Regions from separate parts of the Homo sapiens genome. Here all the other regions are linked to region 4. Evidence: promoter capture Hi-C in human tissues and cell types (Jung and others, 2019). All regions are on one chromosome and are shown on one strand. The core of a region is centred on a gene start or on the middle of the fragment in contact, and the rest is flanking DNA. Distances in the headings are between cores, read along the strand shown.

Region 1 (4,076 bases), core at 673-3,172, 180 kb before region 4:
GGAACTGGAGGGCTGAGTGGTGGGCTGAGGGCCACTGGGAAAGGGAAAGCCCCTTGGCTGACACACCTGTGAGTGTTAAACATGCACAGATGGGAAGCCTGTGTTTACCTATGATTTGGACACAGGATTAGAAGGTCACATTCAAAAAATGCCTCCTAAGAACCCCCTGGAGGGAACAGACTTTGGGTTAAAGCATTTTCTGAAGAGACTCAAAGCAAGTTCTTCTCTTGTTGAGAGATAAGATAAATGAGGACCCTCACTCTTGGCCTTTTTCCCCCTACTTATAGTTTCTACAGATGCTTGGAGTCATATGATCTACTCTAAGCAAATTCTGACTGAGGTACGACAGGAGGGATCCAGGTTCTGTGAGGCCTGAAAACAATACGGTTATTGTAAGGATTAAGAGAGACAATATATGTAATCTTTGGCTTGATGCTTTGCACAATGTAAGGACTCAATAAACAACAGTTACCTAAGGGATAGGTCATGAAGCAAGGAGTCCAGTGAGGATATTCCCTCAACAGTGTGGGCCAGAGATGAGAAAGCTTACACTGGCACTGTTGTTTGGCAGCAAAGATGGAGATGGAGAAGGTGGAACAGTGCTGGAAGAAATTAAGAGGACAGGAATAGTAGGGTGTGCTTGATGATTGGATTCAGAGGATGATTTGAGAAGTGGGAAGAGGGAAGTGCCAGCCAAAAAACTGAGGAAGAACAAACAGAGCACCAAGCATCAAGTAGTGATCACTGAATGACTCAATACTGCCCAGCATGGACACACCTAGGAAATGTTAGCCAAAGAAATGTTATAATTGTCTAAGTGTATAAATGTCAAATGAAGGGGGCAATGTATAAATTTTATTTTAAAAATAAATATTTTTATTCATAGTTATAGTCTCATATGAATTAAAGTACTGAAAAATGACTTAATTACCCAAAAGTGTCATCATTGTGTAATAAAAATAAACTAGAAAAGAACGTTACGATGGCTAGTAAATTATTAGAAATATAGACAAAAGACAGAATTAAATCACCACTTTATATTTTTTTCAGGAAAAAAACATTTTTTCAAGTAGAGAATCTCATATGCTTACCTGTTAATAAACAACAATCCAGTTGGGAAAGGATATTTGATTGGAAGTCAGTGTACTAGTCTCAGTTCCTTAACTTACCCTATGACCGCTAGGGAATTACTTACTCAGTTTCATGCTATGTTGAAATTCTAACACTAGTTACGCTGATGCATATAGCAGAGGCAACAAGGAGTCAAGCAGATAGGTCATCAGGAAAAGAGAAGACACCTGGTATGAAATATACTCATCATTAGCACAGAATAAATCAAGATAGGCAAGTAGGCTCTGATTTCCCATGTTATGCTAATAGAGACATTAATAAATCACAGCATCCTTTCCCACTGAACCCAAACATACACTTCACAGTTCAATGCTCTAAGTAGCCATTGGCAATCAAGAGTTGACATCACAGAAAAAATCTATCCATCATCTTAGTTTTTCAATCAGTATAGTGTAGGTGATGCTTCAGTAATAAATAACTCCAAATTCTCAGTAGCTGAAAACAACAGAGATTCATCTTTTGTTTAGATTACACATCCTTTAACAGCTGGCTAGGGACTTTGCTCCACATCATGATCATGCTCACTTCAAGGCCCTAGCTAATGGAGTACACTTATCTGGAACACTGCCAATCAGAGAGGCAAAGGAGATGTGTGGAAACACAAACTAGCTCTGAAGGCCCCATACTTCTGCTCACCTCCCATCGATCAAAGGAAATCATACAGCACAGCCATACCTAACATCTAGTGGACAGGGAGATACAATCCCATCATTGGCCTGGAAGGAAACAGCCCGAACACTAGACCAGCCCTGATGACTGTCACACTGGTATAGACCCAGAGGAATCTGGCCCAGCTGCAAAGCCCAGCTCCAATGGTACAGTCAGATCAGTAAGCCCCACGCTTATTGGTAGTCTAGTCTATAGTTAGTTCTTAGGAGCTTAAAGTCTATTTTAGAGGGGCTTTAGAGGGAGAATAATGTTCAAGAAAACAGGCAATTATAATACAGAAGAATGAAGAGCTACCATGGGGTTATCGGATGCAGTACGAGAACATACAAAGGGCACTGAACCCACACCAGAGGGATCAGAAAGGGACAATATCTAAGCAAAGACCTAGAGAATTGGTAGTAGTATGCTGAATATAATGAGGGGAAGGAAGGAGAAAGAGCAGCTCATCTGCAGGCAACAGTGTGTGCATGACCAAGGAGCAAGAGTGAACACAGCCAGCTGCAGGAATGGCCTGAGGCAGGTATGACCAAGACTGCCAGGGAGAGGGAATGGAGGGGAGGGGGACTCAATCACAAAGGGCCTTGGTAGCCATGCAGCGGACTGTGGGGAATCAGGAGGCAGGACCAGGGTTATGTAGAGGAACCCTATAACCAGACTTACATTTTAGACTTACCCAGGGTCACAAAGCAAGAAGCTAGCAGAAATTCTGCTTAAAACTAAGTCTGCACAGAGTTATTTTGTTGAGAACATTTTGTGGCAAAACTTACGGAAGAGACTGCATATGTGGTCACTTGAAAATGAAGGAAACGATGTCTTTTTCAGTGAGATGTATTTAAAAATAACTTCCAAATATGTCTTGTTTTTCCTTGGCCTTATTTAGGAAAATATCTTTAAAAGCAGAACAACATGCCCAGTGCAAAGCATTGACTCCCTCATCAAGAACTAATGAGAGGGTCAAATTAGATCAAGACCCAAGTTGGCCACAGACACAAGCCTGTAAGATGCTTCTGGCCTTCACACACAGCAGGGGCATCTGCTGGTGGGACTTGAGAGACAGGCTCCAGTTCTCTGAAGGGCTTCCCCAGAACTGGAGAATGAGGAATTCCATGTGTGCTCACATATGCATTCTGCATCTTCATCTGCCGCATGAACTGAATCCTGAAAGGAACATCTGCCTAGCAGGGAGTGCAGATGGCCAGATCTCACTGAGTCAGCAAACAGAGCCCTTGCAAGGGGTCGGTCCTCAGGTACAGATGGCCTCCAGGGGAGCCTCCCACCTCGGAGGAAAGCTGCTAGCATCCTGGAGTTCCTAAGCATGAGAGAGCCAGGTAGTCCAAAATATCTACAGGAAGAGGATTCCACCTGTGCCATCTCAGAAGCCAGGTCTTCTTGGAAGATCTATGCTGTTTCAAAGGCTTTCCCACAACCCAGAACATCACTAAAGAGAATGAAATTCATTTCAGACTTCTGTTTCCTGAAGTTAATCATACGGTTCCATATAGTGGCTCCCTATCGGTTCTAAGCAATATGCCCTTTGAGGGTCTTTTCAATTCACTTGTGACCTGCTTTCGATCCATTTTGCATAGGCCTCCAATTGCTAGGCATTTTCATATGAAACTCAGTATAAGACAGATTTTCAGTTCTTTCCTTGTCTCTGTCAGAAGCAGAATGGCAAGCAGAAATGTATACTGGGTTTCTTTTCTTGAATGGTTTTCATTTTCACTCTTCACAGCAGTGGGATTCTTTGTGGCAAGGATTACCCAAAAAACATGAACCCTTCTTCCTGAGGTTTGCCCAACTCCACAAACTTCAAATTTGAGAACTCTGAATTCTTACTGCATCATTATGTGCACAGAATCATGCATTTTTATAGGCTTAGATATATGCATTATGATTTTTTTTAATCTAAGGATTTTGATTTCAAAAGTAAGCTCTGTTACAAAACTGTAGTCTTTTCTTTGAGAAAAAGATTCATATTATAGTCCATGTACAAAAAAAAACTCAACAAAAATTATGCTATAATGTAGCATAAAACATATTTTCAAAATACAGACATTTACATATTTCTTTCAAAATGAAACTACTCTACACCAACTGGAAGAGATGATCTCATGAGAAATGGCAACATCAATTGTTCATACTAGCTGCAAATTTTACAAATTTGTCCTGGGTTTATAGCTACTTCCAAGGCAGTATCACTCTACAGCATCAAGAGGGCAAACTTAAATTAGAAAAAATACATTCTTCATACGAATCCACTGGGATCCCAGCCAAAA
Region 2 (4,438 bases), core at 1,139-3,638, 150 kb before region 4:
TTTAGTAATAATTTACTGTTGAGGCAAATGAATAACTGAAAGAAAGGAATTTGGGTTTACTGTGTGCCTGGCACGGTACTAGATTTACATACATCATTTTTGTTTCATCCTTCCAATAACCCCAAGGATGAGTATTGGTTTCCAATGGGCTCTGGGAATTTCTGTAAATTGCCTATATTTGACAGCGAATAAGTGGGAGAACCTGGGAACAAACCCAGATCTGTCTGAAACCATGCCCTTCCGATGCTTCATACCACTTCCCTACCAAAGGAAGGCCGTGGAAAGCTGGCCCGGACATACAAATGTGGTGCCTGGAGTTCCCTCCACTGGAGTCATTCCTTCAATTAGGGCATTATCTGTAACAGAAATATGTTATCTAAGTAATCCATTAGCAGTCAGGCCACATTAGCAGGAAGGGATTTTAAATTTTTTGCTTTTCCAGAATAGAAGGAACGGGACATGGCACAGCTAAATTTTGATGTTTCAAGTTCACACACTTGTGGTGTTGAGAGTGTAAGGAGGAACCGACTTAGAAAATGCCGTTGTGTGTGGGTCTGCCATACACAAGAGTGATAGCATATGAAAACACACACCTGCAGGAGGATGAAGGGAAGGAGAAGGTAGATGGGCTTTCATGCCCCCATCACAGCTGATGCACCAAGCTTCAGGTGCTGGGAGATCCGAGGTCTTAGAAGTTTCCAAATATTTGTGGTAGGCCCACTATGTGCTAGGCATTGTGCTGAAACTAAGGTTATAAAACTAGATCAGATAGAGTCCCCGTGCCTGAGGAGTTTATATTTGCCCCTGAGAAGTTGGGGAAATCTGTAGCTTGTCAGGGGAAGGAAAAACTCATGGAAGCAACTTGGGAAAAAAAGAGGAAGCAGGTTAGGAAAGGAGGTGAGGGGAATTGAAGGTGGAATTCAGCTCCTCCCAGGGCTCTGTGGAGGCACCACAGCAGTGGCATCTGCCCAGGCAAAGGTAAAGCCCACCCACTTCAGAGCAGCTTTGTCTTTAGAAAGGAGGCCTCCAGGCTCAGCCAGTCCTCAGAACCTACTGGCTGGTAGAACCTTCTTATTCCCTAGGAGATCACTTGAGGGGATGAAGGATGGGTGAGGGAAAGGGATTGCACTCCCCTTCTTCCCAGCACAGAGGAATTTGACGTTGGCACTAACCCAGAGGGAACTGCCCCTTTGTCTATCAACTCTACTTTCTCCTTTGCTATCCCTACAGAGTAGCCCTTCCTGTGTGCTCTTCACTCACCCACCTCACTCCTCAGCCTGGACTGTGTAACACTGACATAAAGAAATGAGGTGGGGAACATGCCTCCACTGTAGAGTGAACTGCTCAGAAAACAAATTAACTGAGGGCTAGATTCCACTTTGAGAACTTCAGGGGAGGCTTATTTAGGACTTGCAGGGATGGAGGATTGACAGCAGCCTGAAGGACAAGCAACAGATGGTGCCTAAGTTCCACCGCGGTTGCGTCACCATGGAAAGCGGTTGCAACACCCAAATTGACCAGCAGTTCATCAGGGCCCTGGCCCCCAGGCCTCCTGCTGTGGCCAATCAGCTCATTGTTTGAAGGACCCAGTTCATTGTTTTGTTGAGTCCACCATGAAACAAAATTCTTTCCAGAGCCTTGATTAGCCTTATTAGAGCTCATAAAACTTTTTCAGTCTGTCCAAATGTCTCCATTTTCTTCTAGATATTTGTGGTTGGGGGTATCTTTGCTGTCCGTTTTCAATTAGTAAAGAAATGCAGCAAAAGAATAAAAAGAAGAGCAAATTAGAATCTGGACGCATTGCTTCTTAATACCATGTGAAAACTTGTGACAGAGGAAGGGGGTGAGATATAGAAAATACCTTCCTCTTTTTCACATTCCAAGACCAAGTCAACCGCTGGCTTATGGAATGCGTGTCATGCCGTTCCATGACATAATATGAGCCTTTTTATTTTTATCACAAACTGAAAATCTTGCTGATAAATGCCAATATATATTAGGATTCTTCCTATTTCCTGGCCTGTGTGTGGTCATGGGCTGTATGCTATCCATTAATGATAGAACATTGACCTTGGCTGTACTCTAGGTTCACTGAACATTTCCTTAGGGCCCGGCAGAGCACAAGACATTTTTGCCAAAGCTGTCTCTGCAACTCTTCTTCACCCTCTTAATTTAAAAACCCGTGTGTATTTTAACAAAAATATCATCCATCTGTTTCTGATTCATTTACACGTAACTGACCAAATCTCCTCTTCTCAAGGCTATCGTGTCCCACAGGCTCTGCATTGGTGTATAATACCATGTTGAACCTTTCTTCCCTGAATATTAAGAAGCCTTGTTTAGCCAAGAGATTACATGCTCCACTCCCCAGGATTGAAGGGGTGTAGTGGGAGGGTCCAAATTCCAAATCCCTTGGTGCGTCAGTCCACTATGGGCTTGGCAAAATGTCTCCACTCGTCCACAGTGCTGACTTGATTGAGCTGTTATTGCTATGATGTATGAGTGTGAGTGTGTTTGTTTATGAGTGTATGTGTGTGTGCACTGACTGGTGGTGATTAAACATATTTCGTGACATTAACTCAGACTAGGGGTAGGCTTCACTTCTCTGTAGTCAGATCAACTGGCTGACTTAGTGTGAGACTGAATTGAATTCCTCCTATGACTTCCGCTGTGCTGGGTTTTATCCACCTGTCAACCAGGAGCAGAAAAATGAGAAGCAAGGCTTCTCAAAAACAGGAGGAAGAACTCAAGTTCTGGGAGTTCTCCCAGCATTCTTCACTTCAGGCAGCTTTATTCTCAGTTGGGAAGAGGGTATACAGGAGACCACTAGGTCAAGTCCACTCTCAGCATGGACAAGTGAGAGAAATCGTTGCTATTACTTCAGCTGTGTTGGATACTGGCATCATGCCAATCCACCAAGAGCTTCTCCCAAACTGGAAGCCACAAAAAAAGACCTGGGCCACCTAAGGCTGCCCTCACAGCCCAGACAAGAGTTGGCATGTCAAATGATGAATGTTTTTTCTACCTGTTCCACAAGAGCTAGATAGGGCCATCTACATCTAAACTCTATCAAACCCAAAACTTGCTTTTAAAAAAGTTCATTGAAACCTTAGTTATTCAGCATTCTGCTACTTCTGACAATATTCACCATGATGAAATCAATTGCTTCTTCCAATCCAGTTTTCTTTAATAAATCTTATTTTTATAGACTCAGATTAACCTATTTCTTCATTATTTTTATTAAGTTGTGAGCCACATAGAAAATTTAACACAAAGTTACATTTGTGGAGTGACATGAAATATTTGGGCTTACAAGTTGAGTGTGGAAAAAAATGATTTCTCAAAATCAAGCTCAACACTATCTCCTAACTTAGTAAACAGACACTGGGTTAAATAAGGAAAATAAACTTTATTCTGGAAGTACAAGAGGTCTGAGTCTACTTGAATGTTGTGGGATATGTTGCAATTGATCTGTAGTTAATAATAGTTAAAGTACTAAAGTTTGTGAATAATTCACTTTTAAGTAAAACTTAGTGGTAGCTTCAAGGTAAGCCCTATAATAATGCCACTTGAAACCACCACATTCTCTGATATGCTTTACTGAGTTGGAGCGAAAGGGTTCATGTTACTTCAAGGACCCCTAGGATAGTGCATAGGGATGCAATGGGAATGCGTCCTGCATGTGAACATCATCCATCACTCATGTTATGGCAGAAACAGTTGGGAACCTCTACACTCAAGGTCTCAGTACATGTCATAGTTGGAATTGTGAGGCTCTTTCTCACTTTTTAATGTAGAGGGATTTGATTTTTAGCCATTATTATTATATAAAGCAAGCTCACACTCAGAAAAGGATATTTAAGGGTTTTACTGGCCAAAGTGGCATTCCTGTGCAGTGTGATCTTGTAGTAAGGCAGAATTAGGAAACAGTGCTGGCATTAATAAATTCTCCTTCTCTCTCCCTCCCTGCTTCTGTGTGTGTGTGTGTGTGTGTCTGTGTGTGTGTGTGTGTGTGTGTTCATGTGTACAGTTGATTAATTGGTTGGTTGTTTAGTGTAGAAAGTGAGTTACTGGTTCTGTGAACCATGGGCACAGCTGTGTCTAAGATAAGATTAGGAAAAGCATCAGCCACTCTGCAAATGGCACTAGATGGAATGCTAATGAGGCCAACGTCATGACTTCATGTTCAATCTGTGTACTGAGACTACTTAATTTATACTATAGGCATGACCTGTGGGTTCCCTAAACCCCATCTCCATACCAGCCACCAGCCAGTATCTCCTAAATACATGCTATGGTCACAGTCTGGACCAAAAGATCAAATGTGACAATTGTTATGGATCGCTGAGAACCTCGGTTCTCCTCAAACTCCTACTTAGAATCAAAAACACTTACTGCCAAGGATATAAATAATAGCTCCCTGCAGTGGCATTTTAAA
Region 3 (3,897 bases), core at 186-2,685, 200 kb before region 4:
AAGGCCCCCACAAGACATACAATCTGCTGGCACCTTGATCTTAGACTTTCCAGCCTCTACGACCATGAGAAATAAATTTCTGTGCTTCATACCCAGTCTGTGGTGTTTTGTTATAGCAGCACAAATAGACTAAGATAAGAAGCGTCTAGATAATTCTGGTCCCCAGCTTAGGGTCACACAAGCCTTTGATTTTTCTCAGCTGAGTCCCCACACATCAAGGAGAGGAGATAAGCATCCTCACTACAACCTGACCAATTCTTAACCACAGAATCTGTAAATAAAACAAAATGGTTGTTTGCCTCTGAGTCTGGGGATGGTTTCTTACATAACAACAGGTGCATTGGCCCAGGGTTTAAAAACTTCCAGGGCACCAAACAAAGGAATCATTTGGAATATTGGAACAGATGTTGATAAAAATGAAGGACTCGAATGACTGGCTAGCACACATTATTACATGACGTGGCTTCTAATCCTTTCCTTTCAACAAAATTATAATAAGACTTTATAGATTTATTAGCTGTTAGATAATTAAAATAATTTTTGATGTTTGGTAGCTATGTGAATTTTGGTATATAAATCATAAACAATTCAAAGAATATATAATAGCTATAATACAAATCTTTCTAGTCCTATTTATGTAAACAAAATATCATTGCATTTTCATTCATAAAAATAAAAAATAAGAATAGAGTGGATGCGAGATCATGTTTCATTCTAATAGTAATATTCGCTCAGGATCATGTGAACTGACCAAAAGATAAACAGACCTAAACATCTCATTAAGAACAGCATTTCCAATAAAAATCATACTTCTTATGGTTAACAATTATTTATCAAAATGTGTGATAGCCAGGTGCAGTGGCTCATGCCTATAATCCCAGCACTTTGGGAGGACGAGGTGGGTGGATCACTTGAGCTCAGGAGTTTGAGACAAGCCTGGGAAACACAGCAAAACCCCATCTCTACTAAAACCATGAAAATTAGCCAAGTGTGTACACCTGTAGTCCCAGCTACTCGGGAGGATGAAGTGGTGGGATCACTTGAGTCCAGGTCAATGCTACAGTGAGCCTTGATTGTGCCACTTTACTCCAGCTTGGGTCAGAGCAAGACCCTGTCTCAAAAAAAAAAAAAAAAAGGTGATGTAGCTACATCAGTTTAATCAGTTGATAACAATTGTAATTATATCTCAAACTAGAAAAAAATTATTTAACACTTAGAGCCTATGGTTACAGAAAAAATATTTTCTATCTTTATTGAGGTATAACTAGCAAAAATTACATATATTTAGGGTGTACAACATGTTTTTAACATATGTATGTATTGTGAAATGATTACCCCAGTAAAACTAATTAACATATTCATCACTTCACATAATTTGGGAGCTTTGGCATGGGGAAAAGAGGAGATAATGGTCAAAGGGTACAAATCTTCAGCTCTAAGATGAATAATTACTGGAGATATAATGTATAACATGGTGACTGTAGTTAATAATAATATACTGTATACTTGAAATCTTCTAAGAGGGAAGATCTCAAGTTTTGTCACAGAAAACTTTTTCAAGTTTAAATTTTTAAATGTATCAATTTTAAATTTAAATGTATATCATATTTCTGCTGTTGAAAATACGATAATCAATATTTTAAAAATCCATGCTTAAAATATACCCTACAGGGAAAGGAAAATCAAACTGAAAATCTGAAAAACTATTTTAAATTTTCAACTGTTAAAGACGAGCTTGTTCATGTACTTTTTAAAGTAGATAATGGTCATTATAAAAATAATTAAAGTATTTAGATTACACTGGACACATTTTAAGTAGTGATCATATATTTTTGTCTTGAAATATTAATGTTCATAATACACTAGAAAGATCCTTTGCAACTATTTAAACTTATGATCTCAACTTTAAAAGGTATGAAGCAGCCAGGCGCAGTGGCTCACACCTGTAATCCCAGCACTTTGGGAGGCCAAGGTGGGAGGATCACTTGAGCCCAGGAATTCGAGTGCAGCCTGGGCAACATAGTGATACCGTCTCTACAAAAAACATGAAAAATTAGCCAGGTGTGGTGTCACGCACCCGTAGTCCCAGCTATTCAGCGGGTGCGGGGAGCCTGAGGTGGGAGGATTGCTAAGCCCAGGAGGTTGAGGCTGCTGTGAATTGTGATTGCGCTACTGTACTCCAGCTTAAGTAACAGAGAGTGAGACCCTGTCTCAAAAACAAACAAACAAACAAAAGGTATGAAGCATTTACATTTTTTCGTTACCTTTCTTTGTTTGCCTCATTGAGCCTTTTTAATCTCTTCCTACTCCCTAAACAACTTACTTTTAATCTTAGTCTATTGTCTCATCACCTTCTCTTTCCTCTTATTTGATAAAGGACATGTTTTGAGAATTTTATCGAGAACACAAAACAGATGCTTTCAAAGATTTATTTTGTATTCTTTCAGTTAACTTTTTTCTAACACAAGTTTTCCTTGGTATCTTACATGAGCTCTTTGTTCTTTCTTATATTTCCTAATATTTTCACAAGCCGTTTGTTGATTTTTTTTCCCTTGTTGGTTCATGTGCTCTGATTGTCTATCTCCTCCTCAGATGTGTGATTTTATTACTGTATGTAAACAATGGAGGTGTTGGACAACCCCAGCTGCATTTCTTCCTAATCTTGCTATATCTTTTAGGATTCTATACGTGACTGGGTTGATGCAAATTGTCTCTACAGATTACAAAACCCTTGACTGGTACTCCTGTTGATGTTATTGAAATCTTGCATTTTTTTCAGTGATTTTCATAATAAAGCCAGTAGGGAATTATTAACCAGTCATCCTGATAATCTATAAGTTAGGGATGAGAAGCTTTCAAATGTTTATATCAATATATCAATCTTTTTTTTTATAGAGTCATAAGGGGAATGGAGTATTTTGAGAATGCCTCAAGTGGCAGGAAGAGGTGTGTGGCAATGAATCCCAGCTCACAGTTCACTGAAAATCAGCATGCTGTAAGATGCTGATCTTTGATTCAAGCATTTCCTTAGCCCAGCTGCTGCCTAAGAGCCTTTAATTAGAAGAAACACAATACTTTTCAAACTATGATGTTGGCTAGCATCCATTTGTATTTGGTTCTTACAAAGGCCAATATTTAATGCCATCAGAGCTCACTCTGGGGAGAGTTCGCGCCTAACCTCCCAGAGCCAAAAATATCCCCCAGACACAAACACAAACGTAGGTTCCATTCTACGCTAAGTTGAAGCAACATATTATTTTTCTATAATCAGCAAAGTTGTAAGGAAAACAAGTGTGCAAAAGGCATTTCTCTGAATAGTGCTGAACTATGCAGATGACACCTATGGCATTTTCCTCTCAGTCCCTCCTCAATCCACAATAGTTAACACGTGGAACTCCATGTGAGCATGGTATGACCCCCACCCTCCACTCAGCTGATCGACCCAGAGCTGGGCACCAGATCCAAGCTAGACCAATCCAGTGTCCCATCTCTCCAGCTACAGCTGACTGTTCCAGGGGTCAGCACCTATCTGAAGTCGTGCCAGTAAGTTCCACACTGAACACTTGGACTTGGGACTGAATTATATCAGTCTTTTCTCAGTGGTGAAGGGAGAAACTCAAGTCATATTTTCTACCATGTGGAGAAAGCCAGATGACACTAGGAAAGTGTTCCAGTTAAAATGGAGGCTCAAGGCCAGGTGCAGTGGCTCACGCCTGTAATCCCAGCACTTTGGGAGGCCAAGATGGGTGGATCACATGTTCAGCAGATCAAGAGCATCCTGGCCAACATGGTGAAACCCCATCTCTACTAAAAACATAAAAATTAGCTGGGTGTCGTAGCACGCACTTGTAATCCCAGCTACTCAGGAGACTGAGGCAGGAGAATGGTTTGAACCCA
Region 4 (4,311 bases), core at 322-2,821:
CCTTTTTCTCCCTTCCTTTCCTGTCTCCTTCCACATTATTGTCTCTCTCCTTTAGGAGCTTAGTTTCCGATGCCTGTGGATCCTTCCCTGATTTCTGGGACCAGAGGTGGTGCGAGGTTTTCTTGAGGGCACTGGCCACGCTGCAGATCAACGCCGGTGGCAAGAAGGGGCCGCAAGGGTTTCCGCAGACACCCACACATGCAGGCGTTCCCACAGAGGGTACCAGGGATTTCCCAGACCCCCACCAGCCCTCAGGAATAGCGTAGAGAGAGGAACGTCGCCTGGCTGAGAAAGGTGGATGGGCATACCCATGTACCTTTGTGTATTAAGTACCCACAACCTCCGAACTTAGCCGTCCCTGTCCCGGCCCGCCCAACTGCTGCCGCCGCATCTGCAGAAACCACTCGTGTTGAGGCCTCGGAGCAGCCGGGAGCACCACGCTGGAGCAAAAAAGCCGGAGGGCGCAGGGCTCCAGCCCGGCTGACCATCCCACCCAGCGCAGGGACCAACGGAAAACCCGCGCGGCGCCAGGACCAGGGGGCTGCCCGACGCCGCTCGCGGACTAGTTCCTCAGACTGTGGGACTCCCTAGTGCCGGCTTTGCCCAGGGCTTTCCAAGGCTGTCTCATGCCCTAGATCTGCCCCAGCAGCTCAGGCCTTGGACTGCGAACCCAGTATCCCGAGACACCGATTCCATCAGTCCCCATCCCGACCCCTCTCCAGCCGGGTTCATCCGCCTGCTGCCTCCCGTCCTCCACGTTTCCCCCACCAGCCACCAACAAGCGGCAACCACGCTGCCTTCTGCAAAAGAGGAAGAAGGAAAGAAGGGAGAGAGAAAGAAAGGGGGGGAAAGGAAGGGAGGTTTAGAGACTGGAATAGAATCCGCAGCCACATTCAGAAACTTACTCGAGCTTGAGAAAAACAATTTAAGAAAAGTAAAAAGGAAGTGTCCAGAGCAGGAAGGGAATTCACAAATGTAGCCTCCAGCGGGAACAGCTCCCTGGCTGCCGAGCTCCAGCGGGAGGGGAGTCGAGCGTTTTCTTTGCCACTTACCTAGTCCCCTGTCTACAAAGCTGGTGATCGTATTAGCCGACTTGGAAGACTGGAAAAAGCTGGCATTGATGCCCAGCTTCTCAGCGATGGAGTAAGTCCTGTAGATTGACAGCATGTACTCGTGGGGCACCACGCGCGGACCCCTGCCTGGCGGCTCCTGCGCCCGGGGCTGCTGAGCCCGGGGTTCGTCCTGAGGCCGCGGCTGTGGTTCCTGGCCCTCCCGGCCCGCGTCACTGTCGCGCGGCGCCCGCTGCATCTTGCCTTCCTTGCGGCTTCGCATGCCCTTGGTGGAACCCAGCTCGGCGGACGACGAGGAGGATGAGATGGAAGCCTGCTGGAAACCGGGCAAATCCCACAGAAAACTGATGAGGAAGACGGCCGAGAGCAGGACCCTGGGAGTATCCATGGCGGGCAAGTGGCTGCGTCTCCCCAGGAGGCGGTGGCGGCGGCGCAGGACGCGCGGGGCACGGAGCGGCTGGACAGCGGCCGGGGCCCGGCTCCTCGGGCGGACTCGGAGTGCGAGGAGCCGGGTCCCAGCCACACAAACCCCGGCCCCGCCACGCCCCCTCCCGCCCCTCGCCGGGAGGGGAGGAATGGGGAGGGAGGGCAGAGGAGGGGTGGGGAGGGTGGGAGGAGAGCCGGGTGGTGCGGGCCGGAGGTGTGGGGGAGAGGGGCCGCGGTGCGCCGGTGTGGCAGGAAGACGCAGCGCCCCCGCGGGACGCGCGCGGGGTTGCCGGGCGGTGCGCGCGGCGCGGGCCGCAAGCGCTGACCGGGGGAAGGCGGGCGCTGCCGGCCCGTGGCCGGGGAGCAAAGGCTGGCCCGCCGCGCCAGGGTCCCCCTCGAACTCCCGGAGGTGTGGTCCCTCCGCAGCGCGGCCCCGGCTCTCGGTCCTCGCCAGCCGCCTCCACTTTCCTGGGAGCGAGCGGCCCCGGAGGAGGGAAGCGGCGGCGGCGCCCCCAAGAGACAGCTTGGAGCAGGCGCCTCTGCTGCAGGCTGCGTGCTGCCTCGGGGCGGTGGTACCCTCCCTCCTCGGCCCCAACCGCCAGGCCTGCCGTTTGCGCCCCTCAGGGGCCAGCCCGGAGCCAGAGAAGCCTCGCCCTGGGCCAGGCGCAGGGCCCAGCTCGGAACAGCCCCATTTTCTCGGTTGGGTATCGCTCTCCACAAAGACAGGCGTCTATTCCCGACCCTCGAGGTCAGGCAAAGGCCACGAGTCTTTAGAGTTTGGATCGATGCTAAAAGCTGCTGCGCTCCCCTGCAGGCCCCAGCCTCTCCTCTCGCAGTCCCCAACCTCTTCTGACGCAGACTTTAGCTGCTCCACTTCTTCGTCTGCTCCCGGGATCCTCTCCCTCTCGCGGCCTGCCCCCCGCCTCCACTGCATCCCCATTTTCCCTCTCTTCTTTCCCTCCCGCCTGCAGGACTTCCTCCTTCCCCAAGTTCCTTCTGCATTCCAATCCCTCTTCCCCAGCCTGCTTTTCTTCTCACACTGCCCTCCCATCTCACACTGCCTTCCCACCCTCTCTCTTCCCGGCCTCCCCCCTCGCCTTCCAGTGGACCCCTCCCTTTGCAGCTCTACCCCAATCTGTTTCTCTTCAGCCCAGCCTCGCCCCATCACGAGTTTCCTTTATCTGTCCCCAGATTCCCCGTGCCTGTCTTCCCCGCCCACTGCCTCGCTCATTCCTGGGCCTGCACGCTGAAAGGCGATGCGGCGTAGCGCTGCTTCTGTCTGCCACAGTGCTCTGCCCTGGACTGCTATGGGCAGAAGAGTTTCCCTCAGTACTGATTGGGTGCTCAGGCACCAACCATAAAGTACCCTCCTTTAATCGTGCCAACAGCTTTGTGAGGTTGGCGTTGACTATTTTCACCTTCACGGATGGAAAAAAAAAAGACTCAATGGAAATAAGTGACTTTTCCAAGGCCACTCTGCCAAGAGGTTATGCAGCAAGGGACAGAACCCAGGCTCCCACCCCAAGCCCAAGATTCTTCCCACTACAGCATAGACAGTCATTCCTGGCCCAACTTCTCTATTTCAGTTCTGGCTTTTTTCTTCTCTTTATGGTTTCACTTGATCTCAGGTGGCTTCTTTCTCCGCCATGCTACTTTCTGTGTGTGTTCCCAGTCTCTCCAATCTCCTCCCTCTCACTTTCTAACCCCTTCTTCCTTTTGCTTTTTCATCACCTCTTCTGTCCTGCAGGGACCACTCACATGACAGCCTGCAGGGGGAGGGAGTTTTGCTGCGCTGCTCCCCTCATCCTTTAACTTCCTTAAGGTCTGGGATATGCCCTCCACCCTGGACACTGGCCTCCTCCAGGTAATGGCAAGCACCCACAGAGAACTTGTGTGTCAGTCATGGTTTGAAGCCCTTCGCCAATATTATTTTACTTAATCTTCACAGCAATCCTGAAATAAGTGCTGTATTATTCCTATTTTACAGATAGGGAAAGTGAGGCCCAGGGTCACACTACTCCAGAGTCTGGGCTCTTAATCACTGGGCTATTGAGCTTGGCTGCTCTCCCCTTGGTCTCCGTGGATGCCCCTTCTGGCCCTATCCCAATTCTACTTATGTCCCCTAGTTTGGGTTTCATGGTTGTCAAGTTCTGAGACCTTATACTTGAAGGTGCTTTTACTATAATATTTTCTTCCTTCCTCTCTCTGTGCTTTAAAATGGCTTGTTAATATTTACAATAAAATAAAATAAAAGGAGATAAACTGAAAGAAAAAATTATTTCTCAAATTTTTGCCACTACAACAAATCCAAATGTTTTTACCTTTTGGGTTCCCTTCCACTCCTTCTTTATTTGTTATGCACATATCCTTTTCATATTATTGTAATCCAGGGATAGATATTATGTTGGATTCCTCCCTTGTCACTTAACATTTTACAACCAAATCCACTGCCTTCGATGTCTCTCCCCTATGTCCCCCCTTCACTGCCCCTCTGCTGGCCTGCAAATGCAATCTCTGTAAAACCACAGACTCAAAACTCCCCATTTCTCATTTGCAGAAGGAACATTTCCCCCCTGCCTACCTGTCGCCTGTGGGATGTAAGTGGTCTTTTTTGGCCTGCCCTGTGTCTTGCTCTGTATGTCTGCCTCTCAAGTGTCATCCGGGAAAGTGCCCTCCTTGTGATCTATTTCCATCCCTTCCCCAGGAAACAACACTTGTGGTTTGTGTTATCAATATTTTAATTTCTATCAGTATGGTGCCTGGTTAACAATGATTCATAGTTTTACAGTTTCAGACCCTCCATCCAATAAGTACT
Region 5 (4,025 bases), core at 9-2,508, 240 kb before region 4:
AACTAATCAGGGCAAGATCATTTGATGTTGCTCTTAATTCCATTAGACTTGAAAGTTTGGGGTCTTTACCTTGAAAAAAGAATTAATTTGAGGGCCTTCATTATTTCCAGGCCAATTGATAATAAGAGCTTTTAAAATTCAAGCTTAGAATGCTTCTATTGTACTGGCATTTTATTACTAACGTGTATTTATGCATTTTAATATTGAAGCGTCTTAATGTTTCACTTATCCTGTGGCAGAATCTCTAATTGTCTATATTTTACACATGGCTGGATATAAGTTGGGATTGGAATAGGTAATATGTTTTTGGCCTTAAGGACAATGTGGCATCAAAGTGTATTTTCGTAATGCTCTGTTCTGACTCATCTCAGAGCTTTCTGAGGTAAAAATCCTCACTGCTTTCTAGATGTCCCTCAAAGGAAGGGTGTGGCCTCTCATGGGTAAGAAGGACTAACTTGATCAACTACCTGACTCCTCTCTCAAAGGGAAAGCCACACTCCTATCTTAATCATACACTCAATAGGCAAACTCAATGGATAAAGGGAATTAAAACCTGGGGAACCATGGAGGGAAAAGCCCATTTCCCCCCTTTTATTTCAATGAAAAGGGATTTCTCTAGTCATTCCTGGCCTCCCTTCTCCTCCTCCCCATGGAGATGGTGTGAAATACCTGGCCAGTGACACCCAGTCAGTAGCCACAGCTATCATTCCACAATTCTTCACCAGTGGAGCTCATCTCCCAAAGGTCTAAACACAGGAAATTTTCTCTCTTTCTCCTTCTCTCCGTTCCAGGGGAGGCAATAACCTGGCTAACAGTGTTTGCTCTGCAGATTCAAACTTTCCTTCCGATAGGTTTTTCCAAGGTCTAGATAGTAAATTAGAAAGACTGTTTATGATCCTAAGCTACATCCACTAACATAGCCTTTATCAGTAATAAGGGTCCTTGTTTATTACTCTTTTTATTTCTCTAGTGGTTAAAATCTCAGGCAGAGAAGGGTGTGTTACATCAGCACTCAGAGTTCTTTGAGAATTAGCTTGAAATAATTCATATAAAGCTCTTATATTGGTGTCTGGGTACAATATGAGTGCTCAAACACTCTGGCAATGCCGCCAATGACCTCCCATGTAGTAGGTTTCCATGTGGCATGGGCCCTCAGCCTTCATGTGTTACTTTACTACTTCTTGCTTTGTTTTCCAGTTATCTGTATTTGTGTCATTAGGGGTTATAACTGCCGAGGTCAGAGATCACATCTTCATCATCTTTGCATTATCTGAAGCACCAACCATAATGCCTTGTATGAAGAGCATGCTCAATAAATAATTACTGTAAAACTAGATGATCAGAGGGCAGTCCAATGTTTACTAACTATTCACCCTAGAATTCCATATTTAAATAACCTCATAAAATAGGTCAACCATTCTTTTGAATCCAACTGGAGTTTGTTCTTAGACAAATTCTCAACAAGAGAAAAATATGCAGCTTATCACATGGGTCACCTAATCACAGAAAATAAAATCAAGATTCTGTGGAACTGACATAGTTGTTTTCTCCAGGGAAGCTTAAAGCACTTTACAGTCTGCACAACATCTAGACTCAGAGCAGTCCTGGGAGTAGCTGGATGATCCCTCACAGCTACCTAAACACTGTGTATACAATGCATTTCCCCCTTTGAAATCCTTTTTTTGGTGCTAGAAACTATGTAGATGCTTAATAAATATTATTATGAAAAACAATAATATTTATTTGAGGTCCCATGGTGAAGCTAAGAAACTGAGCCCAGCTAAGGGTCATATCAGAATCCACAGTCTCCCTCAGCAAAGCAGGAGAACTTTGTGACTACACACCTACTATGCCAGGCAGTCAACAAGATTTTTTAAGTGTTACTCAGACAGGTAAGCCTCTACCACAAACCAAAGAATAAATAAATACATAAAATACTGAGGCAGATACGATTCTTGGCCTTAAGTTGCTCTCTATCGAAAGGAAACAAACTCTTCCAAAAATAACACCATATACCACCAAATATGTACAGGTGTATAAAGCCACTTGGTTGTATATAGCTACAAGATTACATAATGAAGAGAGTTCCCAGGGCCAAAACAGATGTGTTTAATCTTCACTTTGCTTTTATTTGTCTGATTAAATTGTTGTCTGATTAAATTGTTGTCTGATTAAGTTGTTTCCATGGTAGTTGTTCCATTTACAGCTATGTAGTCTGGGGTTTACTCTCTTTTGGCCTTGGTGTTACTATCTGGAAAATGAGATTTTAAAAAGTACTAATTTGATAACATTATGAGAATTAAATAAAATAGTTTATATAAAATGCTCAGCACAGTATTTGTTATATAGGAAGCTCTCAAAATTACTATTACTATTGTCTATCTTCTTGCATGTGTCATAAGACTAAATTTGTGTACCCTAGTTTATTTTAGTTTTTGCATTCTGATTATAAAAGTCTTACATAGTCACTGCAGAAATCTTAATAAATGCAGAAAAATATAGTTGGGAAAATAAATCTCATCCATAATTCTAACACCCACAGGTAAAAACTATTAGCATCGCAATAAATTTCTATTTTCTAAAGGCAGGGATCATATTGGTTTCATCTGTGTAAAGTACCTGGCATGTAGTAGGTACTCACTGAGTGGATGTTGAAAGATCTCATAGTCAGGAACAAGTGTATGACAATAAAGCTATATTTATATACTGTATAAGTAAAAGGGAAACATTCTAAAGGATAATCCCTGGGCTCCTTTCAAAGTAAAAAATCAGAATTAATGGAAAATAAAAAGACAGATTCCCTAGGTTATACATAGGATACCCACTAAGCCCCACAACCCAAATGTTGGTAAGCATAATGCAATACTTGCTTGCTCTGCATAAACTGCACTAATTTGCTGTCCTCTGTGTGATGATTCTTATTATGTTCCTATTTTTTCCTTTTGGTCCTAAATTCTATTACACTGATAGATTGAAAACTACATAAGAGCAGGCATTTGTGGCCTTCTCATCCTCTTGGATTCCCCATTATCTCCTAGTCCCAGACTCTGCACTCAGTGGTCACACCCTACATTTTATGGACTGATAAGCTAAGTTAGCATCTATTCCGGATCACTGACTTATCCCGACCAGGTAGGGACAATTTTATCTAAATCTCTCAGACCGTAGGGACAGCCCAGTTGGTCATTAGTTGTTCCTACTTAGTCTCTTGCATCATATCAAAGGCATTTATTGAGAAACTGGGCCACTCAGCACCTCAGGTTGAGTTCCCAAAACTCTTCTTTGCTGGTCCCAAGTGATTCTTCTATAGCAACCTCCTTCATGATCAAGGTAGCATAGAAAGAATGTGACTTTCAGAGTCCCACTGCCTCGGTTCAAGTCCAGCATCCACTGCCTACTACCCTATGTTGAGCAAAATATTTTACCCTCTGAGCCTGTTTTCTCATACGTCTGGCACATGGCAAGCATTAAATAAATATAAATTACCAATATTAGCAATAGTAGAAGTAGTAATCAAATGAAACCTACTGACTAGTAACCTAGCAATATCCCAGTCTGAGTACTGCCATGAATCAAAGGTTGCATGCATGCAATCCAAACCTCTACAGGTCACATTTCTTTCTTTTTTTTTTTCTTTCTTTAAAGAATTTCTCCAGGATATTTATTTTTATCTGTAGATTTTGTAACTTCTTGACGGCCCTGATTTTCTTTAAGAATCATCTTCTTGTCTCTGAAAAACTCTTAAATCCTTTTTTTTTTTTAGTTTTTTTAAATTATTATTATACTTTAAGTTCTAGGGTACATGTGCACAACGTGCAGTTTTGTTACATAGGTATACATGTGCCATGTTGGTTTGCTGCACCCATTAACTCGTCATTTACATTAGGTATTTCTCCTAATGATATCCCTCCACCAGCCCCCTACCACATGACAGGCCCCAGTGTACGATGCTCCACTCCCTGTGCCCAAGTGTTCTCATTGTTCAATTCCCACCTATGAGTTATAACAAGCAGTATTTGGTTTTC

The links. Contacts are between HindIII fragments. The study calls those that stand out against the background at their distance.
Region 1: a fragment that was not itself captured here is called in contact with the fragment with the promoter of GDF6 in region 4 in 2 of the 25 tissues and cell types used here (IMR-90 fibroblasts and mesenchymal stem cells).
Region 2: a contact is called between a fragment that was not itself captured here and the fragment with the promoter of GDF6 in region 4, in 1 of the 25 tissues and cell types used here (IMR-90 fibroblasts).
Region 3: a fragment that was not itself captured here is called in contact with the fragment with the promoter of GDF6 in region 4 in 2 of the 25 tissues and cell types used here (lymphoblastoid cells and mesenchymal stem cells).
Region 5: a fragment that was not itself captured here is called in contact with the fragment with the promoter of GDF6 in region 4 in 4 of the 25 tissues and cell types used here (aorta, dorsolateral prefrontal cortex, lymphoblastoid cells and 1 more).

The regions. Positions count from the first base shown.
Region 1 is chr8:95,981,415-95,985,490 of GRCh38, forward strand. No RefSeq gene overlaps it. Among named protein-coding and RNA genes, the nearest start is that of GDF6, 180 kb to the right of the region's middle. The HindIII fragment of the contact is 8,089 bases long and covers 1-4,076 here.
Region 2 is chr8:96,004,950-96,009,387 of GRCh38, forward strand. All of the region lies in intron 1 of LOC124901983 (a long non-coding RNA gene), which reads left to right. Among named protein-coding and RNA genes, the nearest start is that of GDF6, 150 kb to the right of the region's middle. The HindIII fragment of the contact is 9,341 bases long and covers 1-4,438 here.
Region 3 is chr8:95,958,006-95,961,902 of GRCh38, forward strand. No RefSeq gene overlaps it. Among named protein-coding and RNA genes, the nearest start is that of GDF6, 200 kb to the right of the region's middle. The HindIII fragment of the contact is 5,589 bases long and covers 1-3,897 here.
Region 4 is chr8:96,159,235-96,163,545 of GRCh38, forward strand. GDF6 (growth differentiation factor 6) reads right to left here and starts at 1,572. Exons shown (of 2, transcript NM_001001557.4): 1 at 1,053-1,572. The coding sequence starts at 1,458. The HindIII fragment of the contact is 22,921 bases long and covers 1-4,311 here.
Region 5 is chr8:95,924,127-95,928,151 of GRCh38, forward strand. No RefSeq gene overlaps it. Among named protein-coding and RNA genes, the nearest start is that of GDF6, 230 kb to the right of the region's middle. The HindIII fragment of the contact is 5,171 bases long and covers 1-3,844 here.